2 separate regions of the Homo sapiens genome follow, and region 2 is linked to region 1. Evidence: promoter capture Hi-C in human tissues and cell types (Jung and others, 2019). All regions are on one chromosome and are shown on one strand. Each heading gives the region's core, a stretch centred on a gene start or on the middle of the fragment in contact. The rest is flanking DNA. Distances are from core to core; before and after follow the strand shown. Region 1 holds the start of INTS6 (integrator complex subunit 6). Region 2 overlaps DLEU1 (deleted in lymphocytic leukemia 1).

Region 1 (3,651 bases), core at 121-2,620:
GTTCATTGCTGCCGCTCACGCCGCGGAGGGGAAATGTCGGCCATGTTGATAGCAGCGCCGCCGCCGCCGCCGCCGCCGCCGCTGCCGGGCCGGGCCGGGAGGGGACGGCGGTGGCCCCGCGACTCCGCGCCGCGCTAGGACGCTGCCGAGCGGGGGAGGGGGTGGGAGCCCGCAGGGAAGAGACCTCAGCGGCTGGGAGCGCAGCGGGTGGGGGAGGGGAGCATAATGAAGGGTGAATGGGGGGGCGGGGAGGGCGAGCGAGGAAGGAACAGGGAAGGGAAGGGAGGAAAGGGGGAGGGCGAGGGCTGTTACCTTGATAGCATAGGGCGGCTCTTCGAAAGTGACCAGCATATACCTGTCTCCTCTGCTGGCAGGGTCCCGGGCACGGAGCTGCGGGACGGGAGGAGGAACAGGGCGGGCGACAGGGAAGCACAGAGGCGAGGTTACGAGGCGGAGAAGGGGCGCCCAGCGGCCCCGCCGCCCCCACAGTACCGCACACGCAGCGGCCACCCCTCCACGCCGTCCCCCACACACAGATCGCTCCCCACACACCGCCCGGGGCCGGAGCCCGGGCCCCGGCCGAACCCGGCTCGCAGCGCCCGCCCGCCCGCGCGGTGGGGGAGGGGGTCCCCGAGCCCGGCAGCTCCCGCAGTCAGGTCCCCGACACCCCCGCCCCGGCCGCCCTCCCCCACCCTGCCGCCCGCGGGCCGCCGGGCCGGGGTCGCCGCCCGGGCTCGGTCAGTCGGTACCTTCATGAAGGTCTCTACCGCGCCTTTGGCCGTGTCCAGGTAGGTGGTGCCCAGATGGCTGCGCTGGTTCATAGAGGCAGACGTGTCTATCAGGAACAGTAAGATGGGCATAGTGCTGGCCGGGGACACCGGGGCCCGAGGTGGTGGAGAAAGAGGAGATGGTAGAGGTGGAGGCGCCGGTGGCGGCGACCGCCGCTACGCGGGGCGGGGGAGCACGGCCCCCGGGAGGAAAACACTGTCTGGGTCTTTCCTCCGGCTGCGGGGAGTTTCTCCCCCGATAGTTGAGAGGAAACTCCCCAGACCCAGTGCTCCCCGTCGTACCCCCGCCTCCGCCTCCTCCTGCCTGCCTGCCCGCTGGGGCGGGCGCCCAGCCGTCTGTCTGTCGGTTCGTCCCCCCCGCCTCGGGGGTCCCGTCCCCGCTCCCGGCCCCTGTGTGTGTCCCAGCGGGAGACGGGCCTGGCTCCCCACCCCACCCCCGGTACAGGAGTGGGGACCTGGGAGCTGGCGAAGAGGGGAGTGGGCTGAGGGAAGATTGGCCCTGGGGCTGTTGGGAGAAGTTTCAGGGACTCCCTCCGCACCCCGGCGGTGTCACCACTTTCTCAGCCCCTCTCGCTACTGAAGCGCTTTTCTCTCTCACACTCCGGTTTTAACTCGGGCAGGGGCTGCGGAGGCTCCGCCCCTGACACGTCCCCGAGCCACGTGATACACCGCCTCGCCGTTCTACTGGTCAGGCCCTATCCTTTCATTAGCATATTTAAACAGCTCAGGGGCGGGGGAAGCTTGTAGGCCGGCTCCGGGGACAGTTATTGAGCACGCGCAGAGGCGGGGCGTCGGGTGCGCGCGAGCGGGCGGGCGGGCCGACCCGGAGGCGGGCTTCGGGAAGGGGCGGGGCCGGACTGCGGAAGGACCGCGAGGTGGGGGCGGGGGCCGCGTCCGCGCGCGCGGGGCGGCCGCGGCGGTGAGCCTGCGCGTCAGGGCCGCCGGCCTCTCCTTGGCTGTTGGAGGTGATAGGGGTCGAGGGGAGGGAAAAAGGGGCTGGCGTCAGCCGCCCCTGTGAGGTGGCCGTAGCGTGGACGAGTAAGAAGGGTTGAGTAAAGTGGACAAACACCTGGTTAGGAGAAGAGGGCAGGCCCGCAGCCGCCCTCCGGAGGAGGACTCGGGGCCTCGCGGGCGCCGGAGGAGGTTCCTGGGCCTCGGAGGGCCGCCCCGGCGCGCCGCCCCGGCGCGAGCGGGCGCGGGCGGGGGAGGGGAAGTGAGAGGTTGTTTATGACCGGGGACTAATCTCCTCCGCGAGTCCCAGCGCTCCCTCTGGGGAGTGCGGTTGAGGGGCTGTCCTCGCACGGAGCCTCGCTCGGCCTCGGGGGAGCCACGAGAGGTGGGAGTTGGACCCGCAGCGGGCCAGGAGCCCTGTCATTGGAGGACCCGCCAAAAAGGAAGCAAACCCTCTTTTTCTTTATCCAACCCCAAATAGCTAGGGCCTAGGGGGAAGACTCACATATCGATAAATGGTTTGTTGCCCGTTTTATTCTCTGGGAAATACAACTGATCTTACCAAAGAAATAACCTGTCTCTTGCCGTGTTTACTTAGAGCCATAGAATACCTGTTTCAGAGCTGAAGGGGACCTGAGCCCATGATAATCCATTACCTCGTGAGAAAGCGGAAAAACTGACTTCAGCTTGCCCAGATGGCGCAGAGAATGGGTTTCCCGTAACCCCGCCTGTGTCTTTCCTTCAGCCTCGTCCCAAATGCCGTGGGAGGGAAGGCACTCTCTGTCAAGCTGCTGTCACCTTACCTGAAGTAAGGAGTCCACGCCTGCATGTCCGAGGAAAACAGTTTTCTCAAACACATTAGTTGAAAAACTGAAGACGCTGCCTAAAATACAAGCTGAGTTAGAGACAGCCCTTGTAAGACTAGGTAGGTATTTACAGGGCCTCTCCCACTAGCTTTGTTTTTCCAGAGTTTGTTCTTTATCCGGAAATTCTTAATTTGCCTACTGATCATTTAAAGAAAGGGTTCTATTAACATTGACACAGAAGAGACACTTTGTGGCACTTTTTAAAAATCTGAGTCTCGTGACTTGGTATAACTTCTGAAACTTACTGTTAATTTATAGCAGAGCTATTTGAGTAATATGCTCTTCTATGAGTATGAACAATAGAAGAAGTGTGATTTTTAAAGTGATTTGGACTACAAAATAAGAGCATGGAATATAGGCTTTACAGCCAGTACTTGCTGAGGATGTACTGTGTATTAGGTGTGGTGCATATAAAAAATAAATAAAATGTGGTCCCTGTCTTCAAAGAGCTTATGTTTTCTAGGAAAATGCTACATATTACTAGCTACTCCAAGGCAGAAAGTTGTTAGACACCAAATCAGAAAAAATAAAAATGTATTACCTTGGGGTGATGCAGGAACATTTTCCAAGGTTTCAGCTTTGCCTTAGTGTTTCTTAAACGGATCATAGATCTGAAGATAAGAATCAGAGTTCTATGGCAAAATACGAGTTATTTTACCAGTTATAAAGATGAAATTTGTCTTTCAACTTGATCATTTGCATAATTTTATACAATTGCTCTTTAGTTCTTTATATTTGTGCTTTTCAAACTGGTCTGTGGACCCCAGCCTACTGAAAACATTCTCTAGGATCATAAGAATTTATTTTAGGAGTCTGTTCATTATTCAGTTTTAAGAAACACTGTCTTAAAGGACTGGTAGGATTTGGATATGGGTAAAGGAAGGGGAAGCTGCTAGTGAAAAGATCTTCCCGACATTGAAAATGTGAAGAAAGGAAGTTAAGACAGCATTGCTGAGGGCTTCCTGAGGAACAGTGAAGTTCAGCTAGGTTGGAGCAACAGGTGCATGTAGAATAGTACAAGATCTAGAAACACAGGTGAGATCTAG
Region 2 (3,832 bases), core at 589-3,088, 1.3 Mb before region 1:
AGTTATTCATATATATTAAAATGACACACTTCATTTCCAACTACCAAGTACAATGTTCACCTTTATTCTGTTTGTTTTCGCTTTGTCGTGCTACTGAAATATGTGTGCATGTGTATTTAACCAAAGAGAAACTCACTCCTAACCCCATATTTAGTGGTGGGACCATCCCTTATTTAGTGAGGCTGTTTTTTTTCCCCCCAGACCCGAGTTGTTGTTGCCCATGCTGCTGAATTCCCAATATGAATAAATCATAATCATATGATTATACTAAATCAGAGGTTTCAGTACCCTTCCACAAAGTGACAATAAAATGCTCATTAAAAAAAAGAGTAGGTTGTGTTCAATGGTGTTAATTTAAAATTTTAATGCTCAGGCCAAAATGCCAGAAAGTGAACCTCAGTTTCTTGGTAATAATAAGGTGAACTGGCTTCCAGCAGAGAGATTTTGTGGCTTCTGTATCCTGCCGCTGCACTTCTCCCTTCTCCAGCCTCCTTTCTATTTGGTGGTGCAGAATCACCTTGGTCAGCCCTTTGACCTTGCCTGGAAAAAAGTCCTCATCAGTGAGTGAGTGTGAGGTTAGAGTGATAAAGATTCTAAAGGAATGCCTTGTTTTGATTCAAATAGTTGGATTAGTCACAGAGTTACTTAATCCACACACATAGTAGAATCCTCCAGCAAGCTTCTTTGTTTTCATCAGAGCTTTTGAGAGATTATTATATTATATCTCTATCTTTTAAAGATAGAGTAGAAATCCATCTATGAAGAATAGTTTTAGGTGCATTCCTGCCTGAACACACATTTGGACAGTCTTATAATTATGTATCTTCCCGAGATGCATTTTGAGCCATTTCTACCCAGAACTTAAAAAAATATTTCCTATGAGTGCTGGAGGTTCTTGCTTCTCTTAACCCACTAACTTTTTGAAGCCATAAGAATATCTTATTAAGGATTATGCAAAATAACGTCCTACAAATCCTGATATTATTACACTGCCCAAAAAACTTCAAAGCATCAGGAAAGTGTTGTGTTTTTTTTTTTTTTTTTTTTTTTTTAACTAAACCAGATTCAGCTGGCTACCCCACTTGGCTACAGAGTACTAAAGAAGAGACTGAACTTGATCCTGCTGCCCTTGCATACACAACACTCCCATTGACGCTAGTGAAGACTTAAGCGCATGAAAGGATTCCAGGATCAAAAGGTTAGCTCTATGGGGAGCTGTGTCTGGCTCAAGCAATCCATTTTTTTCTATTGACAGTGAAAACGTTTTATAGTTCTTTTTCAAAGTTTTCCCAAACTTTTACAATAACAGGCAACTTGTGAAAAAGTGAGAAGGCATCTAATTGAACTATATCCAGAGGAGATCATGGCAGAGACCAACAGGAAGAAAAACATTTCCAAACCACAGCGATATTGGTCAAATCAATTGTATTTGAAGAATAAAGCATTTGAGGCGTCGGCTGAGAAAAATTTTCATTATGAAACTTGGTTGGACTATGAAGCAGAATGTGAGATAAAATAAAACACAGAGCTCATGAGTTTTTATCTTTGTCTGCTAATGACTTATGCTAGCAGGATTATACTTTTTTTTTGCATTTTATGAGATGTATGAACTAGGAAGAAAATACATGCTATATCTAAATGGATTAGACGTGCAGATTCTTAACTAACATTTAATTCATTGCTAGTAAAACAAATGCCTTAAAACATTTAAAAAAGTGAAATTATCTTAAGGAGATAATTAACAAGCAGAGTAGAATAGCATTTTTGAAGAAAGTGTAATATGGTTCTACACTGGCATTTTCTGCATTTATTGAAGATACTTAGTCTATCCAACAATTCACTCATTCATTCTTTCATGAAACCCTGTCTCTACTAAAAATACAAAAAAAAATTAGCTGGGCACGGGGGTAGGCCCTTGTAGTCCCAGCTACTCGGGAGGCTGAGGCAGGAGAATGGCGTGAACCCGGGAGGCAGAGCTTGTAGTGAACCAAGATCGCGTCACTGCACTCCAGCCTAGGTGACAGAGCGAGACTCCGTCTCAAAACAACAACAACAACAACAACAACAACAACAACAACAACAAATTTCTTTGTGCACTTACTATATGCCCAATGCTAATCTAATAGTTTTACAAGACCTCAATTGAACAAGTGTCTGAGGAAATGGATTGCATCTAATAAAGCAAGACACACCAACTGTGGATGGGTGGTGTGTCTAGAGTATTTTGCATTCCTAAATCACTCTTCTGGAGAAAATTTGTATCAATAATTTTGTCTAGCTTCACCTGGAGTTACACATTTTGATTGGTAAGTGGCTTCTGTGATTTGCCTCTTAGAAATACATTATAATGTTATCCTAATATATGTACTAGGACAGACAATGCTACGTTGAACTAACTTGAATAGCATATTTTATAATCATAAAACTGATATAATATTATAGTTTTGATCTTAATCCTCCTCTATTGTATGAGCAATGGAAAGTCTTGGTGAGGAGCTTGTCTAAACATTTCTCTTGCATTTTCACATAATTGGGCTTGACAGTTTCCTGCCATTGTATAGGATAACTTCAGTTGATGGTGATCATGTTTTTGCTTAAGGGTCATTGAATTGTATTAGAAATTTTATACCATATTCTTGTAATCCTATAAGTCATTTTTGAGTTACATTATTGAAAGTGAACAATAATGTACCACAAAACAAAAGTTACTCATGCAGTTAAAGCTTTTTTTTGTACCTAGGTTTAGAAACTACAAGTCCACAGAGAATAGGGCTCGTGAAATAAATGAAAATACACGCTCATCTCCACCCACTCCTTGTTGTTGGGGCCTGGTCAGATCTGGTGAAAACATTAAGCCATTTGCCTTAAGTGGTATTGGCAAGTTAATTTATTCACCTTCTGGAAGGTACCAGGCTAGTGCTTGCAGAGGCAAGATTTTTTTTGGGTGAAGGGAGCAAACTTTTCCACTTAACATGTGCCCATGGAAATCAGGTACTTCTTTTTTCAGCTACCTTAGCTTCTGTTGGGAATTTGAGGGTGTTTTATGGGTTATGTTCTTATACGGTGGTTAAGTAGGCTTGCTGAAATGGATCTAGAAAAGACCCAGGTCAGTCACTGGTTGAAAAAGGGTTGACAGAAAATTAAGGAGATATGACTGAGAGCAGTTTCTCTTTCAGGTCCCCAAATTTCTCCTCTAGCCAATTCACATTAAGGTCTGAAATTTCCCCCATTGGTGTCATTCCGGCCATTGTTTCCAGAAGGGACTTTCAAAAATGCAAATATGTTCCTGTGGAGCATTTGCACATTTGGTGAGTTTGTCAGCCTAAATGAGCAGTTATCTTTGGAACTAAGAAAGAAGGGTCTTAACAGAGAACCAGGTTGGAGGAAGAAAGATCCTGAGAACATTCATGGGAGGTAGGCCAGGGGAAGACATACAGCATGAAACTTTGGCAGTTTAGAAACAAGGGGGATAACTCTTGTTAAGAGAGCTTAAGGGTCACAGAAGACAAATATAGGTCATTTCACAGCCTAATTTGGAGTTTGATCTTCACAGTAGCTCTTTATGGGAGATCAGAAGGCCTTAGCTCAGGTATGGGGAAAAGACTTCCTGTGAAGTCTTTATTCTGCTTGATCAAGGCTGCTTGAGGGTGTCAAGGGGTTCAAGAGAAGTTCTGAGGCCAAGTTCAAACTCAAGGGAAATAATTCTCTCATTTCATGATTTGTGCCATGGATCCATGAAGGAGTGGTCATCACGACCTCAGACTCTGCTGCATTTTTGGAGGGTTTAGTAAGTCGGCAATGGCAGTGACAGCTCAGTCCAGTTCTCACAGTG

What was found. The method cuts DNA at HindIII sites, captures the fragments that hold promoters and counts their contacts. A contact is called where the count stands out against the background at its distance.
Region 2: a contact is called between a fragment that was not itself captured here and the fragment with the promoter of INTS6 in region 1, in 1 of the 25 tissues and cell types used here (lymphoblastoid cells).

What each region holds. Positions count from the first base shown.
Region 1 is chr13:51,451,666-51,455,316 of GRCh38, forward strand. It overlaps INTS6 (integrator complex subunit 6), which reads right to left and starts at 1,371. Exons shown (of 18, transcript NM_012141.3): 1 at 750-1,371; 2 at 313-390. The coding sequence starts at 860. It overlaps INTS6-AS1 (INTS6 antisense RNA 1), which reads left to right and starts at 1,680. Exons shown (of 2, transcript NR_103812.1): 1 at 1,680-1,753; 2 at 2,338-3,051. RefSeq lists silencers at 17-176, 247-386, 397-516, 527-796, 1,037-1,296 and 2 more and an enhancer at 1,357-1,406. The HindIII fragment of the contact is 6,572 bases long and covers 1-3,651 here.
Region 2 is chr13:50,155,764-50,159,595 of GRCh38, forward strand. All of the region lies in intron 2 of DLEU1 (deleted in lymphocytic leukemia 1), which reads left to right. Among named protein-coding and RNA genes, the nearest start is that of DLEU2, 32 kb to the left of the region's middle. The HindIII fragment of the contact is 5,908 bases long and covers 1-3,832 here.